Regions from separate parts of the Homo sapiens genome. Here region 2 is linked to region 1. The links are contacts of gene promoters, found by promoter capture Hi-C in blood cells and fetal thymus (Javierre and others, 2016). All regions are on one chromosome and are shown on one strand. The core of a region is centred on a gene start or on the middle of the fragment in contact, and the rest is flanking DNA. Distances in the headings are between cores, read along the strand shown. Region 1 holds the start of PTPRK (protein tyrosine phosphatase receptor type K). Region 2 overlaps MTCL3 (MTCL family member 3).

What was found. Contacts are between HindIII fragments. The CHiCAGO score rates a contact against its expected background, and 5 or more counts as called.
Region 2: a fragment that was not itself captured here is called in contact with the fragment with the promoter of PTPRK in region 1 in 2 of 17 cell types (fetal thymus and total CD4 T cells); the score reaches 8.1 in fetal thymus.

The regions. Positions count from the first base shown.
Region 1 is chr6:128,518,603-128,523,321 of GRCh38, reverse strand. PTPRK (protein tyrosine phosphatase receptor type K) reads left to right here and starts at 2,723. Exons shown (of 30, transcript NM_002844.4): 1 at 2,723-3,063. The coding sequence starts at 2,964. RefSeq lists enhancers at 2,361-2,955, 2,956-3,549. The HindIII fragment of the contact is 3,706 bases long and covers 1-3,264 here.
Region 2 is chr6:127,512,996-127,517,714 of GRCh38, reverse strand. It overlaps MTCL3 (MTCL family member 3), which reads left to right. Exons shown (of 7, transcript NM_001400265.1): 2 at 1,013-2,201; 3 at 2,668-2,892; 4 at 4,666-4,719. The coding sequence starts at 1,101. SOGA3-KIAA0408 (SOGA3-KIAA0408 readthrough) reads left to right here. Exons shown (of 13, transcript NR_174482.1): 2 at 1,013-2,201; 3 at 2,668-2,892; 4 at 4,666-4,719. It overlaps LOC107986642 (a long non-coding RNA gene), which reads right to left. Exons shown (of 2, transcript XR_001744337.2): 2 at 2,415-3,428. Among named protein-coding and RNA genes, the nearest start is that of MTCL3, 4.0 kb to the left of the region's middle. RefSeq lists a silencer at 1,467-1,696 and an enhancer at 2,384-2,908. The HindIII fragment of the contact is 3,876 bases long and covers 919-4,719 here.

The DNA of each region.
Region 1 (4,719 bases), core at 1,474-3,973:
TGGTGGCATTGAGTCCATTCATGTTGTTAGGCAACTATTACCACCATCCCTCTCCAGAACAGTTTTATCTTTCTAAACTGAAACTCTGTATTGTCTTCTGATGATTTTACCCAACATTTGATCATAAGCATTTTTCCATCTTGCAATTTACTTTTTTCATAACTTTCATTTCTAGTGGCTATGAGATATTCTACCATATAATGCTTATGAATCTGCCTATTGTAGAATATTTATATTCTTTCTCTTTTGAAATGATAAACATATTAAATAACATTTTTCATATTTTGGATTATTTACTTGCAATAGCTTCTAGACTAAAGAATAGGAAGATTTTAGTGATTTTTAATGCAGGCTGATGATTTCTTTTCCTAAAAGTTTAACCAAATTTATACTTCTATTGATTCATGTATTCATTTATTCTTTCAAACAAACAAAAATCTACTAATTCCTAATATTTGCCACGCACTTAGCTATGTAGAAGACCCACCAGATTTCTACTCAAGTGATTTCAATCCATACTGGTCGCATTAGTTATGCACAAAAGGAATAATGTACTTACCTAAAAGTTTTATTGCATGCTTTTGATTTTTAGTGAGAAACCATCTGTGTTGGTTTGCTGATTTCTTTTGAGAATTTCCTTTCTTCTCTTTGCATCGCCTCCCCCACTTCTCACTTAAGTATGTGTCTTTGGGTAAGTTACTTAATCTATAACCTTGTTTTCTTATTTGTCAAATGGGAATAATTGTACCAAAGTCTTCACGGAATTGTTGACTGAACTCAATGAAACACTGAAAATCTTGATGTCTCAGTGTGACATTGTATACTCTAAGACAGTGCCTAGAACATTTGAAGAACTTTCTAAACATTACCTGCTATTATTATTACTTCCATGATAGAGAAATTAATAAAGTTTCATGAAATGAATCTTCTATCAGCTGTCCCCCAAAATGGGCAAGGTAAGAATTGTGTGCACTTTGTCCTGGCACTGTGTGAAAATATTTAAAGAAGTTTTTTGTTTGTGTGTTTAAACAAACAAATTACCACGTCATGAACTTCTTTTACATTTCTTACAAGAGTAGAACAGATGAATTAGTATACAGACAGTAGGGTTTTGTTTGTTTTTACTGGGAAAAATTGCTGCTAAATTTTAGGAAGTTCTGCTGTCCTCAAAAAGAAAAATATGTCCCTCAGTTTTTTGTTACCTGGGATCTAGGAATGTTCTCTAATTAAAGAAATGGAATGGTGATGGTGTGTTGAAAGGTATAGGTTAATGAGTTAAAAAAAAAAAATCTACATTGCACCCTAAGGAAGGATGAACTTAACTATGCTGAACTGAATTGACAAGGGTTGAGCTAGTCAGTGTGCTAATGAGCAGGCTACTATTCTCATAGAATTTTTAAAAGTCTTTTCTGCCTGATATGTATGTGTGTATAATATGTATTTATATATGTATATATTTGTGTGTATATTTATTACATTTTTGTTTCCACAGGCTCTGTCATAAGTCTGGTCATTAATAGCATATATTTGATTAAAAGAATATGTGGCTTGGTAAATTATGTGAATGTTATATTAAAATGAATTTCACATTGTCTTGATTTACAAAGGCTAAGATGTCTGAGAAACTGAGAGATGTCAATCAACAGACTATTGTTTTAGCAATTGTACATAACACATAAAAATTCTGAATCAAAGTTATTATGTTATTCAATTGTGACCATACCTATTTTTTGTGACATTTTACAAAAATGAATAAAGTATGCACCATACAGTCTTACCACAGAAGTAAGGCAGGGTGGCATATGGCGAAACCACTTCAAGCTGCTGAAGTAGTTAACTGTGAAATATTTTACTGTCATAATATAGCATTATTTTCTGCCAGATGAATCATTCCGAAGAAGCTGTTTTCATGGTCAGTGTAAAAGTCCTTTTGTTAAATACTTATGTCTTAACTACCTACTAGATATTAAAAAAAACAAAACCACACACACACCAGACCTAGGTGCAAGGAAGGGATAATAAGCCCTGATGCAGTTCTTAGGTGAGAACTGGAAAGGGGCCGGAGGGTTTCAGAGCAACAAGCAAAGTCAGTGAAGCAGAGTAAATCCAAATACTTGGCCAATGACAAATAAACCAGAAAGGAGACACGCCAGCTGTTCACGCTGGAAAGTTACTGATCGTTTATTCTGGTTCAAGTTTTATTTATTCTATGAATAAGGGACAAGTTTTCGATGGGGGTGGGGTGTCTTATTCCTTATTACAAGAATAAGGAACGGGGAGTTTTCAAGGCAGGCGGGTGTTTCCTCAGGGCGCTTCCACACTCCCCTTTCAATCAGCAACCGCTCGGGGGGACCTCCACCTTGGGACGGAACCCCAGGACGCCTCTCCTCGGACGGCGGGGGTTTCTCTGCGCGCGTCCTCGGTCGTCTGGTCGCACGGCTTACCGAACTCTCGCCTCTCAAATTCTGAGTTCTGGAACAGGGCAGCGAGCTGCGCCGGCTCCCCTTTCTCGCTCGCTCCCTCCGAGCAGCGGCTGGCGGCGGGGCCCAGGCTGCGAACAAAGGCGGCGCGGGGCGCGCGGCCGGGGCTGGCGCGCGTCTCTCCGGCAGGAGGCGGTGGCGGCGCCGCGCCCGAGCCCGCATTCCTCAGAAGCGCCCGGAGCCCGCGGGGCGACGTCACCCCCGGCTCCGCCCCCGTCCCTCCCCGAGCAAAGTAACTCTTGACTAACAGGAGCAGCCTCCGCCGAGCATGGAGAGCTGCCGCCGCGGCCGGCCGGCGACGCTGGCGACGCTTTCGCCCCTGAGGTAGTTTGGCGACCGCGAAGAAGGAAAAAGGGCGGGCGGGCGGCTGTCCTCTCACCGTCCTCACCCCGCGAGGCCCGGCCCGCTCCTCCGTCGTGGATTTCGCGGCGATCCCCCCGGCAGCTCTTTGCAAAGCTGCTTGAAACTTCTCCCAAACTCGGCATGGATACGACTGCGGCGGCGGCGCTGCCTGCTTTTGTGGCGCTCTTGCTCCTCTCTCCTTGGCCTCTCCTGGGATCGGCCCAAGGCCAGTTCTCCGCAGGTGAGTGGCCGGGGGGCGTCCCCGACGAACGCCTGGAGTCCTGGGCTCACGAGGGGTGAGCCAGGTCCCCGCTAGGGCTGGGGACAAGGATCGTGGGGAGCTCTCTCTGTCCGGGGGTGGGGAACACAGGGTAGAGGGAGGGCTGTCCCCAGAGTTCGTGCCAGGTGGGACGCGGGGCACCCATTGTTCCTCTCCGAAGCTTGCTCGGGGCTCAGGCTGGCACGGTCTAGCCGGAGAGTGTGGGGACCTGCTGGCTTCGGCGTCTCGCGTGGCCTGCGCCGGGCTAGTGGGGAAGAGAGAAAGAAAAAGTAGTTACGACTCCCGTGACGGCACTCTGTTGCTTGTGGTGCGGGTTTGTTGCTGTCTGCCACTTGGGTGTTTAAACAAATTCCCTGGGAAGCCATTGTCAGAAATGTGGAGATTCGAAGGGACTGACCTCGGCGCGCTTTGCCAGGTGCTTTTTGTCCCGGGAATAACCTCCCCTGACTATTGTCTAACTACTTCCCCGTCCCTCCCGGAGTCCCCTTTTCTCCTCCCCCAGCTCTGGGTTGCTCCCGGGCTTGCCCTGTGCGCTCGGGCACTGCTTGGAGCATGTTCTGTGTGTGTGTTGGCGGAGCCCTGTAAGATGTGTTGAAATGCGGTTCTAAGGACCCACTCTGAGCGTTCATGGGCATCGAGGTCTGGGCGCCTGGTGGAGGAAGCCTGACTCGCGCGTGGGAGCCCGCTCCTCGGGCAAAACCACCGCCAGGCTGGCCCCGCGCTCCCCGGATCCGGCCTGGGGCTCTGGCCCCGCGCTCCCCGGATCCGGCCTGGGGCTGGAAGCGGACTGTAAATGTCTGCCTTCTGCCGGAGAACCCAAAAGGAGACAAGTGGAGCGTCTCGCTGTAGCCCTGGGGGTTCTCGGTCAAGCCGCTCAGAGAAGTCCGTGAACCCTGGCTCTCCCGGTCCCGCCCTCTGTTCCCCTCCAGTTTTGTTATCCTTCGTGTAGGTTGGTTGCTTCTTTCGTTCTCTCCTCTGGGGGCTCTGAAGTTTCACCAGGTGGACGCTGGGGAGCGGGCTCCCGAGCACTTGTCTACCTCCCGCCAGTCCTGACAACTTTTCTGGCCAACCTACCCAGCTTCGCTTGGCTGGCGAGCGCATCTGCTGCTGGGGTTCGCGGTGCAGATGGAGACGCAGTGGTGGCCAGAGGGTGATGGAGAAGACGGGAAAAGCGACAGCCACGCTCCTGGCTGAAGCCGCAGGACGCAAATAACTTACTTTGTACCTGACAGTTTCTCACGTTGTTGTGGAGGCCCTGTTTCCTGGAAATAAACTCAAATTGTTGTTTTCTGGAGTAATCGTTTATTTCCCTTCCATTGCTCTCCTACCCCCGCCCCATTTAGAACTCTGTAAAGGGAGTTAAACAACAGATTCAGGTGGCAGCATGTGTCGTACATTCAGGCAGAGATTATGAAATGGCAGCACGCAGAGGAAAAGCCCTGTATATAATTGATGTACGCAGAGGGTAACAGCTCTATGCAAAAAATAATCCAATGGTTTAATTGAATTCTTTCTGGAGTAAGCATTACTGCATGCATTTCTGACATATAATGCCCGTTAGCATTGAAACCGTGCTTGATGTAACTCATTATATGCAGGCAAGTTGGAGTGAGTATT
Region 2 (4,719 bases), core at 1,607-4,106, 1.0 Mb after region 1:
ATCTTACCACCATGAGGGAAGATGCACCAGCCTTCTGGGTTCTGTCTCAGAATTGCTATATAGGAGGAAATGGGCACTTTAAAAAGTACAACTTTTGCCTATGATATGCGATGTAAGAAGATGGCTAAGAATGAAAATATTTTCTATCTAGCAATTACACTTAAAACTAAAGTGATTCATAAGACTACAAAACTGGGTAAGCATAGGAAAATTCATCACCAGAAACTTAGGAAACTGCAGAACTGACCACAACTTTTCCAAATGTATTTTAAAAATTATTTCCCAAAAGGGAAAAAATACGTTTTTGGGTTGCTAATAACTAACCCATATAGACAATTCTTAATGCTATTATTTTCTTGAAACTGAGATTGATTTAAAGGCATTCATTATTTATATTTTCTTTTAGTTCTATTATAAAGGAAGTTGGGTGCATTTTCCCAAAAACAACATTAAGGGTTGGAGCTGCCTGGGGAAAGTGTCATTTATCCGTAGAAAATATTCTCTAGGAACCCTACATCATAACCCTTTTCCTCTAATTGAACTTGGGAATACTAATTAAATGAAAACTTTCTCCAGTAAACTAGGCTTTACATATGGATTTGATGGTAAGGAAAGCCAAAGTTGTAAAAGCAGAGTTGACAACTCTAATATATGGATATCTTTTCTTTCTGAAGCTTCTTTTCCACTTTATCCTCTTTTCTTTTATATCTCCCTTTCCATCAATTCCTGTCTGACTCTGTATCTCACCCTTTCCAAAGCCTGCTACCATGAGAATGTAAGGTTCAGCTGCTTTCAGATCCGTCATTTTGCTGAGGTGGAGTGAGATGGAGACAGCGCCACCCTGGGCAAAATGAGAATTGACAGCCCTCCATCCTATTCCTAAAGACAGCCCTGCATCCTATTCCTAAAGTCAAAGCTTCTATTAAGCGCCATCCAAATGGAGCAATATCACCCTTTGCTCTGCAAAAATTCAGACATGTTGTCTTCTTCTCTCCTTTTGTTTCTGTCCCAGCTTAGGAAGGAAGGTTGGCGGCGGTGAAGAGGGAAGAGGATGATCTAGTAATGGGCTCTTCCAAATCGCATCTGGTAGGTTCATAGCCATGAGTCAGCCACCAATCGGGGGCGCTGCCCCTGCCACAGCAGCAGCTTCTCCCGCCGCTGCAGCCACTGAGGCTCGTCTGCACCCGGAGGGCAGCAGCAGAAAGCAGCAGCGAGCTCAGTCACCCGCTAGACCGAGGGACAGTTCGCTGCGACAGACAATCGCGGCCACCCGGTCCCCAGTGGGGGCCGGCACTAAACTCAATTCTGTTCGGCAGCAGCAGCTGCAGCAGCAGCAACAGCAGGGTAACAAGACCGGGAGCCGCACGGGGCCGCCCGCCAGCATCCGAGGAGGCGGAGGTGGGGCCGAGAAGGCGACGCCCCTGGCGCCCAAAGGGGCCGCTCCGGGAGCTGTCCAGCCTGTGGCTGGTGCTGAAGCGGCCCCCGCCGCGACCCTGGCCGCTTTGGGCGGCAGGAGGCCCGGACCGCCCGAGGAGCCGCCTCGGGAGCTAGAGTCCGTGCCCTCGAAACTCGGGGAACCCCCTCCGCTCGGAGAAGGGGGAGGAGGGGGCGGGGAAGGAGGAGGAGCCGGCGGCGGCTCCGGGGAAAGGGAGGGGGGCGCTCCGCAGCCGCCGCCGCCCAGGGGCTGGCGAGGGAAAGGCGTACGCGCTCAGCAGAGGGGCGGCAGCGGCGGGGAGGGGGCCTCCCCTTCTCCATCCTCCTCTTCTGCGGGCAAAACCCCAGGAACCGGCAGCAGAAACTCCGGAAGCGGCGTTGCGGGGGGCGGCAGCGGTGGTGGAGGGAGCTACTGGAAAGAAGGATGTCTGCAGTCTGAGCTCATCCAGTTCCATCTCAAGAAGGAGCGGGCGGCAGCGGCGGCGGCCGCGGCTCAGATGCACGCTAAGAACGGCGGCGGCAGCAGTAGCCGCAGCTCCCCGGTGTCTGGCCCCCCTGCCGTTTGCGAGACCCTGGCCGTCGCCTCCGCCTCCCCAATGGCGGCGGCGGCGGAGGGCCCCCAGCAGAGCGCAGAGGGCAGCGCGAGCGGCGGGGGCATGCAGGCGGCAGCGCCCCCTTCGTCGCAGCCGCACCCGCAGCAGCTCCAAGAGCAGGAAGAAATGCAAGAGGAGATGGAGAAGCTGCGAGAGGAAAACGAGACTCTCAAGGTGAGGAGGGTGGGGGGACCCGGCTGGGGGATGGGAAGAGTGGGCCTGGGAGGATTAGGGCGTGTACCGGCAGGGATCAGAGGCTGCTAACCTGTTAGGGAGCCTTGAAGAGGGAGGAGAACAAGAAAGGAGGGAGGGGGTTTCCTAGGCCTTGCCGGAATTTGAATCTGCTCTCAGTAACGCGAGGTTTTCATTTAAATTCAAATCTGGGCCTCCGTTTCTCTAATTATAATGGTTTGTCACACTTCTTCCTGGAGAGAGGTAGAGTAAGAGAACGAGAGAGGGCCTAAAGTGGGCCTTTTTCCCCCAGTTTCCTCTTCTGTACTCAGCTCCTTGTCACTCCTGTCTCGTGGAGAGAGAGGGCAATTAAAGCTGAGAATTTGGAATTGGAATGGGGTGTGTACGGTGTGTGTCGGAAGGGCTGGAAGCGAGTTTGATTTTGACACGCGGCCTGTCACCGCCTCAGAACGAGATCGATGAGCTGAGAACCGAGATGGACGAGATGAGGGACACTTTCTTCGAGGAGGATGCCTGTCAACTGCAGGAAATGCGCCACGAGTTGGAGAGAGCCAACAAAAACTGCCGGATCCTGCAGTACCGCCTCCGCAAAGCCGAGCGCAAAAGGCTCCGCTACGCCCAGACCGGGGAAATCGACGGGGAGCTGTTGCGCAGCCTGGAGCAGGACCTCAAGGTCTGCGGCGCGGGGGCTCAATGGCGCGCGGCAGGGGCGGTGGGTGGGGACTTTGGCCAAGGGCTCTTTAGGCTGAGAAGTCTTCAGTGGCGACTGGCAAGGAGCCTTAGGGACACAGTTTCGTAGCGCTAACCACAAAATACTAGGGTCTCAGAAGGGAGAGAACTGGCAGGTGGCTCTAAAGAGTGCAGAGTGTGTGGAGGGCCTGGCAGCAAACGAGCTAAGTGTGCTCTCCTGGGAGCAAAGGTGGCTCTTCAAGAGGTGATGAGAAGAAGGCTCCCTTCTGGGCAGAAGCAAGGGCGTGGCAGAGCGCAGGCTCTAGCCTTTGATCTGCCCTTCAGTCTGTCTACTGAGAGAAGTCCGGTGGAATCGGGCAGTCAGGAGCTGCACTAAAAGGACTCCTCTGGGGGAGTTGAAACCCAAAATAGGAACTGCACTGGGAAGATACTAGAGTTAAGATTTCTTTCAGCAAGTGTCCACTCCACTTCCTTCTTCCAGGACTTCTTCCTTTCTGCACTTGCCACTTAGGTGACTCCCTGAGGGGGAAAAAAAAAACAGATAACCAACTTGCAGCCTGTTTGGTGTGAGGTAAATGAAATAATCTCATTTTTTTAAAGTGCAATTGTTCCTTCAGAATTTCTTCCAGTGGAAAAATCTCAACCTTGAAGTGCATTTTCTAGACAGGTGTGGTCTCCAGTTCAGTTTGACTGTAGGCAGATTCATTGACTATGCAAACTAGACATTAACTTAATCTCCTTGCACAACCAAATAAGTATACGTTCATTGCATTAACTTCATTGGGATTTAAAGATCACGTGTAATCTTTGTTTTAAAGAAAGCTATGTGTAAACATTTTATGAAAGACGTATTACTTTTTTTCTTAACTTTTGTCGAGTGCTTAGTATGTACTAAGCACTGTGGCAAACACTGTTACATACATTATTATTTCATTTAATTCTCAAGGGAAAAAAAATCCTACAATGTAGGGATTATTAAGGCACCATTTTATAGGTGCAGAAGCTACACCTTTTACAGAGGTTAAGTGCCCAGGCCTGGAAAACAGCTAATAGGTGCCAGGCTGACTCTCCACTCAGTCCAAAATCACAACCTGTGTCCTAAGCCTCTACACCAGTCTGCTCCACTTTTCTTCCAAACCCTAGAATTTCCAGGATAATCTCAAAATATGAGGCAAAAATGCACAGTCATTCAAAAAATAATAATCTCAAGGACTAAAACTTTCCTAAGATTAAGCAACTGGAATTCAAGCTATAAGATTGAAATTCAAGCCCAACCCACTACTTGTAAAAACTTCAATTTTTCATTCTTTAACATAGATTATAATGGAAACATCTACCTCATAGTTTTGCTGAAGTAAAGGAAATTTGTGAAATTTCTCTACATGTGATAAAATGCAATAGAACATTTTTTACCACAGAGTAGTGCAGAAGTTAAGGGAACAAAATTTAGAGCCAGATTGCCAGGCCTCTTAGCCCAGCAGTGTCTACTCATTAGCTGTGTGACCTTGACCTCTCTGAGACTCAGTTTCCTCATCTACAAAATAGAAGTAATAATAGTACCTATCCCATGGGATTTTTGTAGGGTTAAACGATTGATATATGTGAATGGCTTATATGTATACTTTGTGGAATAATGCCTGGCACATGGTAAACACCATATAAATATTGGGTTTTAATGCTTTCAATAGGAATACAATTTTAGCCCTTATTATATTGTCATTAATTATATTTTATTGTTACAAACACCTTAATTCAGGTTGCAAAGGATGTATCTGTGAGACTTCACCATGAATTAGAAAATGTGGAAGAA